Linked DNA regions of Homo sapiens: region 2 is linked to region 1. Evidence: promoter capture Hi-C in 16 types of primary human blood cells and fetal thymus (Javierre and others, 2016). All regions are on one chromosome and are shown on one strand. Each heading gives the region's core, a stretch centred on a gene start or on the middle of the fragment in contact. The rest is flanking DNA. Distances are from core to core; before and after follow the strand shown. Region 1 holds the start of TBX21 (T-box transcription factor 21). Region 2 holds the start of MYL4 (myosin light chain 4).

Evidence for each region. Contacts are between HindIII fragments. The CHiCAGO score rates a contact against its expected background, and 5 or more counts as called.
Region 2: the fragment with the promoter of MYL4 here is called in contact with the fragment with the promoter of TBX21 in region 1 in 2 of 17 cell types (neutrophils and naive CD8 T cells); the score reaches 6.2 in neutrophils.

Annotation. Positions count from the first base shown.
Region 1 is chr17:47,729,058-47,734,485 of GRCh38, forward strand. TBX21 (T-box transcription factor 21) reads left to right here and starts at 4,179. Exons shown (of 6, transcript NM_013351.2): 1 at 4,179-4,888. The coding sequence starts at 4,398. RefSeq lists a promoter at 2,187-4,186, silencers at 3,998-4,537, 4,568-4,737 and an enhancer at 4,918-4,967. The HindIII fragment of the contact is 7,327 bases long and covers 1-5,428 here.
Region 2 is chr17:47,206,871-47,212,298 of GRCh38, forward strand. It overlaps MYL4 (myosin light chain 4), which reads left to right and starts at 2,478. Exons shown (of 7, transcript NM_002476.2): 1 at 2,478-2,687. The coding sequence starts at 2,553. The HindIII fragment of the contact is 17,980 bases long and covers 851-5,428 here.

The DNA.
Region 1 (5,428 bases), core at 2,929-5,428:
TCAGGAGATCGAGACCAGCCTGGCCAACATGGTGAAACCCCATCTCTACTAAAAATACAAAAAATTAGCCGGTCGTGGTGGCATGTGCCTCTAGTCCCACCCACCACGGGAGGCTGAGGCAGGAGAATTGCTTGAACCCGGGAGGTGGAGGTTGCAGTGAGCTGAGATCGCACCACTGCACTCCAGCCTGGGTGACAGAGCAAGTGACTCTGTCTCAAAAAACAAAACAAAACAAAACAAAACAAAAAAACAGTTTCCAGTAATAGCCGCTCCTCCCCAGCTGCCCCACCAAACCCATCCAAGAGCCTTCCAGGTGCCTAGGGAGCTCAGCACTCCATACGTTTTCAGGAGAGGACCCAGGTGGCTGGTAGACTCTGGGGTGAGGAATCATCTGGTCCTAGAGCATCAATAAGGAAATCTCAATGCCTGCAGCCACCCTCCTCAGGCATGAAACCTCCTCCACCGCCCTCAGTGTGCATACCCAGCAAGCTCAAGGCACACTGACTCGCAGGATGGGACTTGGAGATGGGACAGCAAAATGGGAGGGAGCCTGAGAGTGGGGTGCATGGACTCCCTGAAGTCCAACGCATCACCTGGAGTCCTTAAACATACAGATTCTAGAGACCCGCCACAGGCCTGGGCCTCAGAATCTCTAGAAGCAAGTCCCAGAAATCCACATCGTTGTGGCTTCCTGGCATAGTCTGCAGCCCACAGGTGAAGCAAGTGCTGTGTGACCTTCGGGGAGCCTCTCTCATTTTGAGTCTTCATGGGAAACAGTTTGAAAGGAAGCCCTGAACGTTTGCAGAGGACAACAGCGTGGAGAGAACCAGTGTCTAGGCTGTGGGATTAGGCATGATTTTCTTTTCTGTTTTCTAAACCTTTTCTTTTCTTTTTCTTTTTGTTTCTTTGAGACCGAGTCTCCCTCTGTCACTCAGGCTGGAGTGCAGTGGCACAGTCTCAGCTCACTGCAACCTCCTCCTCCTGGGGTCAAGTGATTCTCTTGCCTCAGCCTCCTGAGTAGCTGGGATTACAGGGGCCAGCCACCACACCTGCTAATTTTTATTTTTGTTTTTGTTTTTGTTTTGAGATGGAGTCTTGCTCTGTCTCCCGGGCTGGAGTGCAGCGGCACGATCTCGGCTCACTGCAACCTCTGCCTCCTGGGTTCAAGTGATTCTCCTGCCTCAGCCTCCTGAGTAGCTGGGATTACAGGCGCCCATCATGCCCAGCTAATTTTTGTGTTTTTAGTAGAGATGGGGTTTTGTCATGTTGGCCAGGGTAGTCTAGAACTTCTGGCCTCAAGTGATTTGCTGGCCTTGGCATCCCAAAGTGTTGGGATTACAGGCATGAGCCACCACGCCCGGCCTGTTTTCTAAACCTTTTCCAGTGTTAGTATGATTCTTCCTCATTCTTGTGGGAAGAGCACTGGCCTGGGAGTCAAGAGACCTGGGTTCTAGCTTCAGCTCTGCCACAAATGCACTGTGTGAGTTTGGTGTCTTATTCCATTTTGCATAGTTACCATCCACCGTGTCTCATAAAATGTGATGCTGGTTGGAGGCCATGTCTCTCTCATTCCTGGACACTTATCTTGTGTTTCTTCACTCCGGTCTCACCAGGACCAGCCTCATAATGCTCCCTGTATTGATGGGATAGAGAGGGCTGGGAGGAGCAGCCATGGGGAAGTGAGGGGATCCCAGGGGGCCTCATCTCCTCACTCCTCTTCTCCCACCTTTCCAGCCCCAGGGCCCGGGAGGAGGGTGAGGTGGCAGCTGGAGGAGAAGGTGTCACTGCCAGGGCCCTTATTCTCACCCAAGCTGGCAGAGGGGCGGGACTGGCAGCAGTGACACCAGGGCCACTCAGCCCCCGCTTTTCACAAGCACTTTCTTTTTTGGGTGGAAGAAATTGGAGAGAGGGGGTGAGAAATCGGGGATTGAGGAACCAGGCTGTAAGACCCTATAACAGCCTGTCAGGTTCTAGAGAGACCACCCCCAGCCTTCCTCTTCCTCCAGAGGCATGGCCCCAGGGCCACCTGATTCTGAGATTCATAATTCCACCTGCCCCAGAAAGCTGGGTGGGAGCTCATGTCATCCTGTTCAGAGGCAAGGGGATGAATCACTTGACCTGAGGATTAATGTGGAAAAGAGGAGGGGGAGAGAGAGGGAGGAGCAAGACTCCATTTGATCTTCAACAGCCAAGCACTGAGCAAAAATGTCCCCCAAAGGGGTGTCAGCATTCAACAGTCTCACATCTCCTAGGGAATCAGTCATTCAGGAGGGTCTTACTGAAAGCTCTCATGTTTCCCCAAAAGTAGTGAAGGATCCCAAGGTCACCCTCTCTTCCAAGCAATGCTGCCCCACTTTGAACATCAGGCAGAAACTTCCCTGTTCCTTAAGGTACGGAGAAATGGTGGGTAAGGTGTTGGGGAGGAGGCCAGTCCTGTGTTTCTGGTACTGTCATGTATCCGGTCTCCAACCTCAAAAGATGTGCTGATTCTCTCTCCCCCAAGCCTCCCTGGGTCATGCCCACCTCCTGGAGTCCCCAGCTTTGCCTTTGCCTGCCAACTTGCCTCTTGGTTCAGCTCTATTTGGGAGCAGAGAGTCCCCATAGGCCCCTAAGGGTGAAGCCCTGTCAGGCTGGGACAGAAATGTAGAGCTGGGGCCAGTTCCCAGGGGAGAACTGGGGAGGACTGGGGTGAAGGTAGAGAGAGGAGAAGTTAAACTTTAACATGACAAAAATATTAAAGTATTTTTCAAAGTACTCTTAAAAATGTAAATCTTTATCTATATACTGATATGCAAAATATTCCATGACACCTTGTGGAGTGAAAAAAAAGTACACATTATAAAGCAGCATGTGTAGTGTTTATATAAATTATATATTTGTGCATGTGTGCAAAAGACAGAGACAGAGAGTATATAAGGAGTGAGGTCTCAGAGGGTGTTCACTGAAATGTTAATCCTGTTTGGCTTTAGGGGGTGGAATTTGGGGTGATTTATACAGTCTTGTTTTTACTTTTCTGTGCTGCTTAAATTTCCTATATAAGTATGTTTCATCTTTATACACAGGAAAACTCCCAATGATGCTATTTTCAATTGGGGGGGGGGAAACGGATAGTTTTCATCATAAAAGGAGTCTAATACATTAGTTAACATAAAAGGAAAATGGAGAAAGAAAAGCCTCCATCGTCCTATCTCCGAGGCAGCCCTTCAGAGCATGTGGTGGGTTTCCTTCCTGTCAGCCGGCTCTGAATCTGTTCAAAGCAGCTTTTCCATCCAGGTATAATAATAGATTGGAAAGTGCTGCACACGTACACCCTCTCATGTAAGGCTTGCAGCCCCCCTGAAAAGTAGATCTGTTTATTTCCCCCAGTCTATGGATGAGGCACGTGAGGTTGACTTTCAGGCAAGGAAAATGACTTGCCTGGGTCACATATACCTGGCAGGCAGAGCCAGACCTGGGACTCTCAGCACTGGCAGCCCAATGCTACTTCCAGTGCCCATGACTGCCATGCAGGGTAGGGGAGCTTTTGTGGGCCCTGCCAGGCCCAGCTCAGGGCCCTGCAAACCCCTGGCTGCTGCTGATGCAGTGCGCTTTAAGGAACATTTCCTGTTGTCCATCAGGTTCCAGGTCTGCCCCCAGGGCTAGAGCTACAAGATGCAGCCAACTCAGCACATGTGGACCTCTGGTGGGGAGAAAGAGGGCAACCCGAAAGGTCACTTAGCACAGAGTCTGGGCACACAGTAGGTATCAATAAAGATCGATTGAATGTTCATGGTCAAAGTTGCTTCTAGTGTGCCCGTGCTCCGAGCCTCTGAGTGCCAGGAGAATGCCCAGCGAGTCCCACTTGGGCCATCTCGGAAGGCTTCCTGTAGGAGAGGGCCTTTGAGCTGAGACTTCAAAGCTGGGCTGAATTTCCCCGAGGGTCCAGAAGAGAGCCACGGGCTGGTGTGTCAGGCAGCGGAGCTGACACTCCCAGAAAGCAAGATCTTCGAACTACAGGGTGCGCGCAGGCTCTCGCTTCTCTCCACCATGGGGGGCCCTGCAGTACTCGCCAAGAGCGTAGAATTTGCCTAGTATTAGCCACGAGAGGGCGGGGTGGGGCGAGGCGGAGCAGGGCCGAGGTGGCGGAGTGGGGGGGAGCCGGAGAGCTTCATAAAGCCACAGCAAAGCGCTGCGACTCTAGTGACAGCGGCCCGCTGGAGAGGAAGCCCGAGAGCTGCCGCGCGCCTGCCGGACGAGGGCGTAGAAGCCAGGCGTCAGAGCCCGGGCTCCGGTGGGGTCCCCCACCCGGCCCTCGGGTCCCCCGCCCCCTGCTCCCTGCCCATCCCAGCCCACGCGACCCTCTCGCGCGCGGAGGGGCGGGTCCTCGACGGCTACGGGAAGGTGCCAGCCCGCCCCGGATGGGCATCGTGGAGCCGGGTTGCGGAGACATGCTGACGGGCACCGAGCCGATGCCGGGGAGCGACGAGGGCCGGGCGCCTGGCGCCGACCCGCAGCACCGCTACTTCTACCCGGAGCCGGGCGCGCAGGACGCGGACGAGCGTCGCGGGGGCGGCAGCCTGGGGTCTCCCTACCCGGGGGGCGCCTTGGTGCCCGCCCCGCCGAGCCGCTTCCTTGGAGCCTACGCCTACCCGCCGCGACCCCAGGCGGCCGGCTTCCCCGGCGCGGGCGAGTCCTTCCCGCCGCCCGCGGACGCCGAGGGCTACCAGCCGGGCGAGGGCTACGCCGCCCCGGACCCGCGCGCCGGGCTCTACCCGGGGCCGCGTGAGGACTACGCGCTACCCGCGGGACTGGAGGTGTCGGGGAAACTGAGGGTCGCGCTCAACAACCACCTGTTGTGGTCCAAGTTTAATCAGCACCAGACAGAGATGATCATCACCAAGCAGGGACGGTGAGTGCGGCGCGCCGGCCCTTGGGGCCTCTGTGCCCGCGCCGGAACAAGAACGTCTCGTCTGTTTTTCTGGCTCGACAATGCTTCTGACTCCGTGTCCCTCACTGCTTTGGCTTCAGCGTAGGGAGACAGGGGAATGGGGTTGTTAGGAGGACAGGGAAAGCTCCGGAGGGGCGTCTGTGCCCAGGCTGTTGCACCAACAGCCAGAGGACTCACAAGGGAGACGGGTGAGTGCGGGACAGTGAGAAGTCACCTTGATTTAGGGGAAGGGTGACTGTGGCTTCACCTAGAATTGGTGTGCGCCCCTGCCCCACTCTCTACTGTAGAGGAGTCGCAGCGGGCAGTGAAAGCCTGTGCTCTGGGCGGACAGGACGCCTGGGCCTCCTGTGTGGGAAACTGGAGGGGAAGGGAGCCCCTTATCTCCGGGCCCCCTGCGCCCACCTCCCCCGGCTCCTTTGCTGCTGGTGTGCTCAGGTCAGCTTTAGTGGTGGTAGTGGTGGTGGTAGCGGTGGTGGTGGTGTGTGTGTACGGGGGGAGATT
Region 2 (5,428 bases), core at 1,228-3,727, 520 kb before region 1:
CAGGATGCAGTCCAGGAAGGGATGCAGGTGGAGGTGGAGAAGGAGGAGGGCCTGGGCTTCCACTTTTTCTCTTTCCTCGTCACCAACAACCTGAACTCCCAACCCCTGTGGGGAATGGGGTAGGTCAAGGAGAGGACTGACAGGGATTATAGAAGAGTGCGAGCGAAGGTACAAGGAATCAAGTTTGGTAGCCGGCAAGGAAGAGAGGTGAGGCAGAAGATGAGGGGAGGAGGTGAGGTGCACAGAGCAAAGGAGCCACCATCCCAGCTCAGGACCAGGGCTGGGCTAGAATCTGGGCCCTGGTCTCGTTCTAGTATTCCCTTGAGCAAGTCCTGGCCCTTTTTCCTGCCCGTTTCCTTTGAGGGCTTCTCTGTCACCACCAGTGAGCGTGTATAGGCTACAGGAGGAGCAGTGAAGAGCAGTGTGCTACAGAGAGCACTGCACCCCAGGAAACAGAATTAGTTGGCCCAGCTCTGCCTATAAGTAGCTGAATGTCTTGAGGCAACTTCAACGTTTCCCTGGACCTTAGATTCCTTGCCTGTAAAACAGCATGGGGCCAGATGATCTCTAAGGGTCCTTCTGGCTCTGAAGGCAATGATCTGGGGCATGGAACCTGTAGTTAGAGAGCTGGGAAATGGGCAGATGTGGGCTCCAGGGCACCCAGAATTGCAGGCTTAGGAGCTAACAGCAACCAGGATTCTGTAGTCTAGCAATCTTGCTTTACAGGTGAGGAAACTGGGCCTAGAAAGGCGAAGTGATTTTTTTGCCTCTCTCAGCTTTATTCCTCTTTTCCTCTGAACTGTAGAGTCTAAAGATTCAGCACAAAGCAGTTTTGTGTAGTGGATACATAAGCTTTTTTGTTGTTATTTTTCTGAATTATTTTGTTGACTTTCAAAGTTTTTTTTACATAAACAGTAAATGCTCGTTATAAAAATTTCCATTAATACAGGAAGTGAAAAAAGTAAAAAACTGCAAATTGCTGTTATCCTCCCACCCTTACCCCCTAGGTCCCCAGAGGTGTCTCTGTTAACAGTTCAGCGTGTATCCATCCTGACTCCTCCAATAAATGCAGAAACTTGTATGTCTCTCCCCGACAACTGGATTATCATATACATTATTCAAGCATAGGCTTTAGACTCAGACATATCTACATCTAATCCCAGCTTATAGCTAATTATTTGAGTGACCTTGGCCAAGTTGTTCATCCAGTTTTAGTCTCAATCTCCCCATGTGTAAAGTGAAAATAATAATAGTATCTACCTGGCCTGGCGTGGCGGCTTATGCCTATAATCCCAGCCCTTTGGAAGACCGAGGCTAGTGGATCCCTTGAGCTCAGGAGTTCAAGACCAACCTGGGCAATTTAGCAAGACCTCATCTCTACTGAAAAACAAAAAACAAAAAAACTCCCCCAAAATTAGCCAAGTGTGCTGGTGTGCACCTGTAGTCCCAGCTACTCGGAAGGCTGAGGTGGGAGAATCGCTTGAGCCAGGAAAGACGAGGCTGCAGTGAGCTGTGATTGCACCACTGCACTGCAACCTGAGCAACAGAGCGATACCTTGTTTCTGTTAAAACAAACAAACAAACAAAATAGTATCTACCTTATAGGATCATGGTGAAGATTTAATGAGATTTTATATGAATAGCACTTAACAGTTCCTGGTACTGATAGTAGTAAGCACTACACACACACACACACACACACACACACACACACACACAGAGCACAGAATGAGTTAGAGGTAAAGTGAAAACTAAACCCCAAGTTTTCTGACCCTCAGTCTCCTCGACTTTCTACCACATCTCTCTGCTTCTCTCCTAGGTGCCTAGGCATGGGTTCAGTGCTCACTACTTGTTGAATGAATGACTGAGGTTGTGTGTAAGGGGGTAGATCTAGGGATCTGAGGTCTGTGGAGTTCCTGGGATGCCTGCTCTGGAAAATGGAGGCTTTCATCCTGTGAGTTGGGAGGGTGTGGGGCAGTGTGGGTTGGCTGGACCAGCTGTTGCTTCAGAGCTCCATGCCTGGAGAGTTGGGCCTCTAGGCAGAGCTGAGGGCCCAGAGTGGCTCTCAGCTTAAAGGATCTTGGCTTAGAAGGAATGTGCAGTGGGCTGCCTCTGCTCGGGAGGGGCTAAAAAAAGCCTCACCCTCCCCTGGGCTTTGTGTGAGGCTTATCAACTGCTCAAGTCAGCTCATCTCTCTGGCTGCTCCGGCATATTTGAGAAGGTCTGTTTCCCTGGTCCTTCTGGGTTTCCACCAATTGGCAAGAAGGGATCAGCCTGTCCTAGAGGTGAAGAGAGAGCTGTGGCATGAAGGGGAGGGGGCTGGTGGCCCCAAACCTGGTGACAATACACAGTTGTCAGCTGTACCCTGCTGGCGTTTCTTCCTTTTATAGTCAGCAGCAGTTGCTCTTGCTTTCACCCAGCCCCTCTGTGGGGGCTCCTGCCCAGGATAAAAGGGAAGGGAGGCAGCCCAGGCTCCTATCTCATCTCCCAGACGCCACGTCTCTCGGTTTCTTCTTAGATCACTCCTCTGCCAAAGATCCCAACAAGACAACATGGCTCCCAAGAAGCCTGAGCCTAAGAAGGAGGCAGCCAAGCCAGCTCCAGCTCCAGCTCCAGCCCCTGCACCAGCCCCTGCCCCAGCTCCTGAGGCTCCCAAGGAACCTGCCTTTGACCCCAAGAGTGTAAAGGTAAGTGAGGCTCAGCCATTGGGATAGAGGTGGGGATGACATTGAGAGTCCTTTTGCTCTGGAGCTTAGCGATCTACTTTATGTGGGCTGGACTGGGATGAGGACTAGGGTGTCCATGCCCCAGATCGCAGTCCCATGGGGCAGTGGAGTGGGTGTTGGGGCTGATGAGGGGGAGATTGAGTCATAAACCTTTTCCGTCAAGAATGAGGTGCTGCTTTGAGGGAGCCCTGTCCTGCTACCCTAGATTTGTGCAGCTAAGTTGGGAATGGGGGGAGGTACAACCAACCATCCATCCACCCTTTTATAAGGCATTATGAGGACCACCATAGCAAAGTAAAACAGACTAGCCTTTTCCTAGGAGGTAGTGGGATATCTTTATGGAGAACAGACAGATCATGGCAGCTGCCAGTGTAACTTGGAGTAAGTGATATAAACAGTCAGGGAATATCCTCCCTGTGCATGGCAGTTTGGGAAAGGCTTCACTCACAAACACTCTTACGGCAGGTGAGGGCAGGGTGGGAAGGAGGTTGTGGTTAAGGTAAGAGGAGCCCGGATTCCTCTCTCTCTTTCCTTACCCAGACGGGCCTTTCCTTCTGTGGCCTTAGCCTGGGTTCCTATCTGTAGCATGCAGAGGACTGGCCCACCCTGGGCTGAGACCCTCTCTCCAACCGGGTCAGGAAGCTGGGCCTGGTTCCTTTGCCCCACCCTGCTCTCCTCACACAAAACATTCCTCTCCCTGGAGCTGGTGTGGGCCCTGCATGCTGACTCAGTCATTTTAGACCTCCCAGCTCTCTGGCCCAGCTGCTGAAGGAATGGAACTGGTGGGAGAGGGGTGGGCTGAAGAGGGAGGGGGCCAGAGACCTCTGAAGAGGAGCAGTTTTAAGCCTTGGCACCAGAGTGGAAAAGGTCAAGTGGCTACTGGTATGAAGAGCTATTAATAACAGGTTGGGAGTGCTGAGCCCCCAGGGATCTCAGCCTTAGGACAGGGCTGGGGGTGGTGAGGGATCAGGTCAAAATAAGAGCACAGGACAAGGTTCTGTGACAAGCAGGCAGGGAAATTAAAACCCAGAGCTCTAATTGTATGACCTCCCTGCCCTCTGAGAATTCCTCTCATACCCACAGCCGGGATAACCCTACAAGTATTATGCCAAAGACCCAGTCCCCGCAAGGGACAGGAACTGCTTAGCCAAGAGATGGAGGCAATTGTCCCTTTTCTGAGCTTGGTTATGGCTCACTCTGGGGAAACTGAGGCTACTGTAGGACCCTGAAAACACCTGCAGGTTTTCTAGGTCATACATCACTCCATTTACAAGCTGAGCCTGGCAGGAAAAGCTGACTATTTCACCCTTCAGGATCCCTCCTCGCCTTTATTTCTGATTTGTTCCCATAAAGCACTGTGCCTTTGGGTGGGTTGCCAGGCCTTGTCCCTGGTGTCTGGGCAACAGCTGCCTAGTGGCATCAAACTGGTGTCCTTCCCTTGGCCTGTCACTTCTTTCATTCACTCTCCTCTCTCAATTTCTCACCCGTGAGAAATTGCACCCCTGGTTGCAATCCTCTTTTCCATATCTGCATCTTCATGGGGGTTGTTGAAGTTGCTTTGAAGTAGAAAAAAAATAGGTATCTTTTATGAGAGACATTTTCCCTATTATTGTGTTATACTTACCCAGTTCCTTTGATTAGAAGGTTCTTTACTCCAAGACAGAAGAGAAGCCAGATGAGGTGATTCATGTTTATAATCCCAGCCCTTTGGGAGGCTGAGGCGGGAGGGTAATTTGAGGCCAGGCATTTGAGTCCAGCCTGGGCAACATGGCAAGATCCTTGTCTCTACAAATAAATAAATAAATTATAAAAAAGATTCGAAGATAGAACAGAAGCAAACTTAAGCCCAGTGTGTGTAGTTAGGACCACGTCTATTGAGATTTTAAGTTTTTACATTAATTGCTCTTACATGTTTATTCCTGGTTCTTAAAGCATTGTAAAGTAAGGCAAACTGTGCCTTTTCCTCAGAGAGTGAATGCAGAGCATCCTTCACCCCATCTAGGGGGTTCCTTTAACTTTCTGACCACCCCCTACTTTTGGCAGTCTATTCCTAGCCACAACTAGTTTTCTTTCCAACCCAGTTAACTCCCCACTGCCCCAACCTATCCCCAGCTCATGGCTGCCATATCTGGGTCCTCATGAATGGAGGTCAGTTCTCGGAGATGAGACAGGATGGGCACAGCACAAGCAGCAGCAGAATTAGGACTAGGAATGACGGCACTTGAAGAAGAGGCTCCAGGATTGGAACCACCACCAGTGGAGAGGGGATGGGATGGGATGGGGTGGGGTGGGGTGCATAAGGACCACGAGGTAACATACAAGATCTTAAATCAAAATGATGACTTGGGCTGGGTGTGGTGGCTCACGCCTGTAATCTCAGCACTTTGGGAGGTCGAGGCAGGTGGATCACCTGAGGTCAGGAGTTCGAGGCCAGCCTAGCCAACATGGTGAAACCCTGTCTCTACTAAAAATACAAAAATTAGCTGGGCGTTATGGCGGGTGCCTGTAATCTCAGCTACTGAGGCAGAAGAATCGCTTGAACTTGGGAGGCGAAGGTCGCAGTGAGCCAAGATCACACCATTGCACTCCAGCCTGGGTGACAAGTGCGAAACTCCATCTCAAAAAATAAGAATAAAAAATAAAATAAAATGATGACTTATGCTTGGCCATTGTCATTCACTCTCCTCTTCTGTACTCAGCAT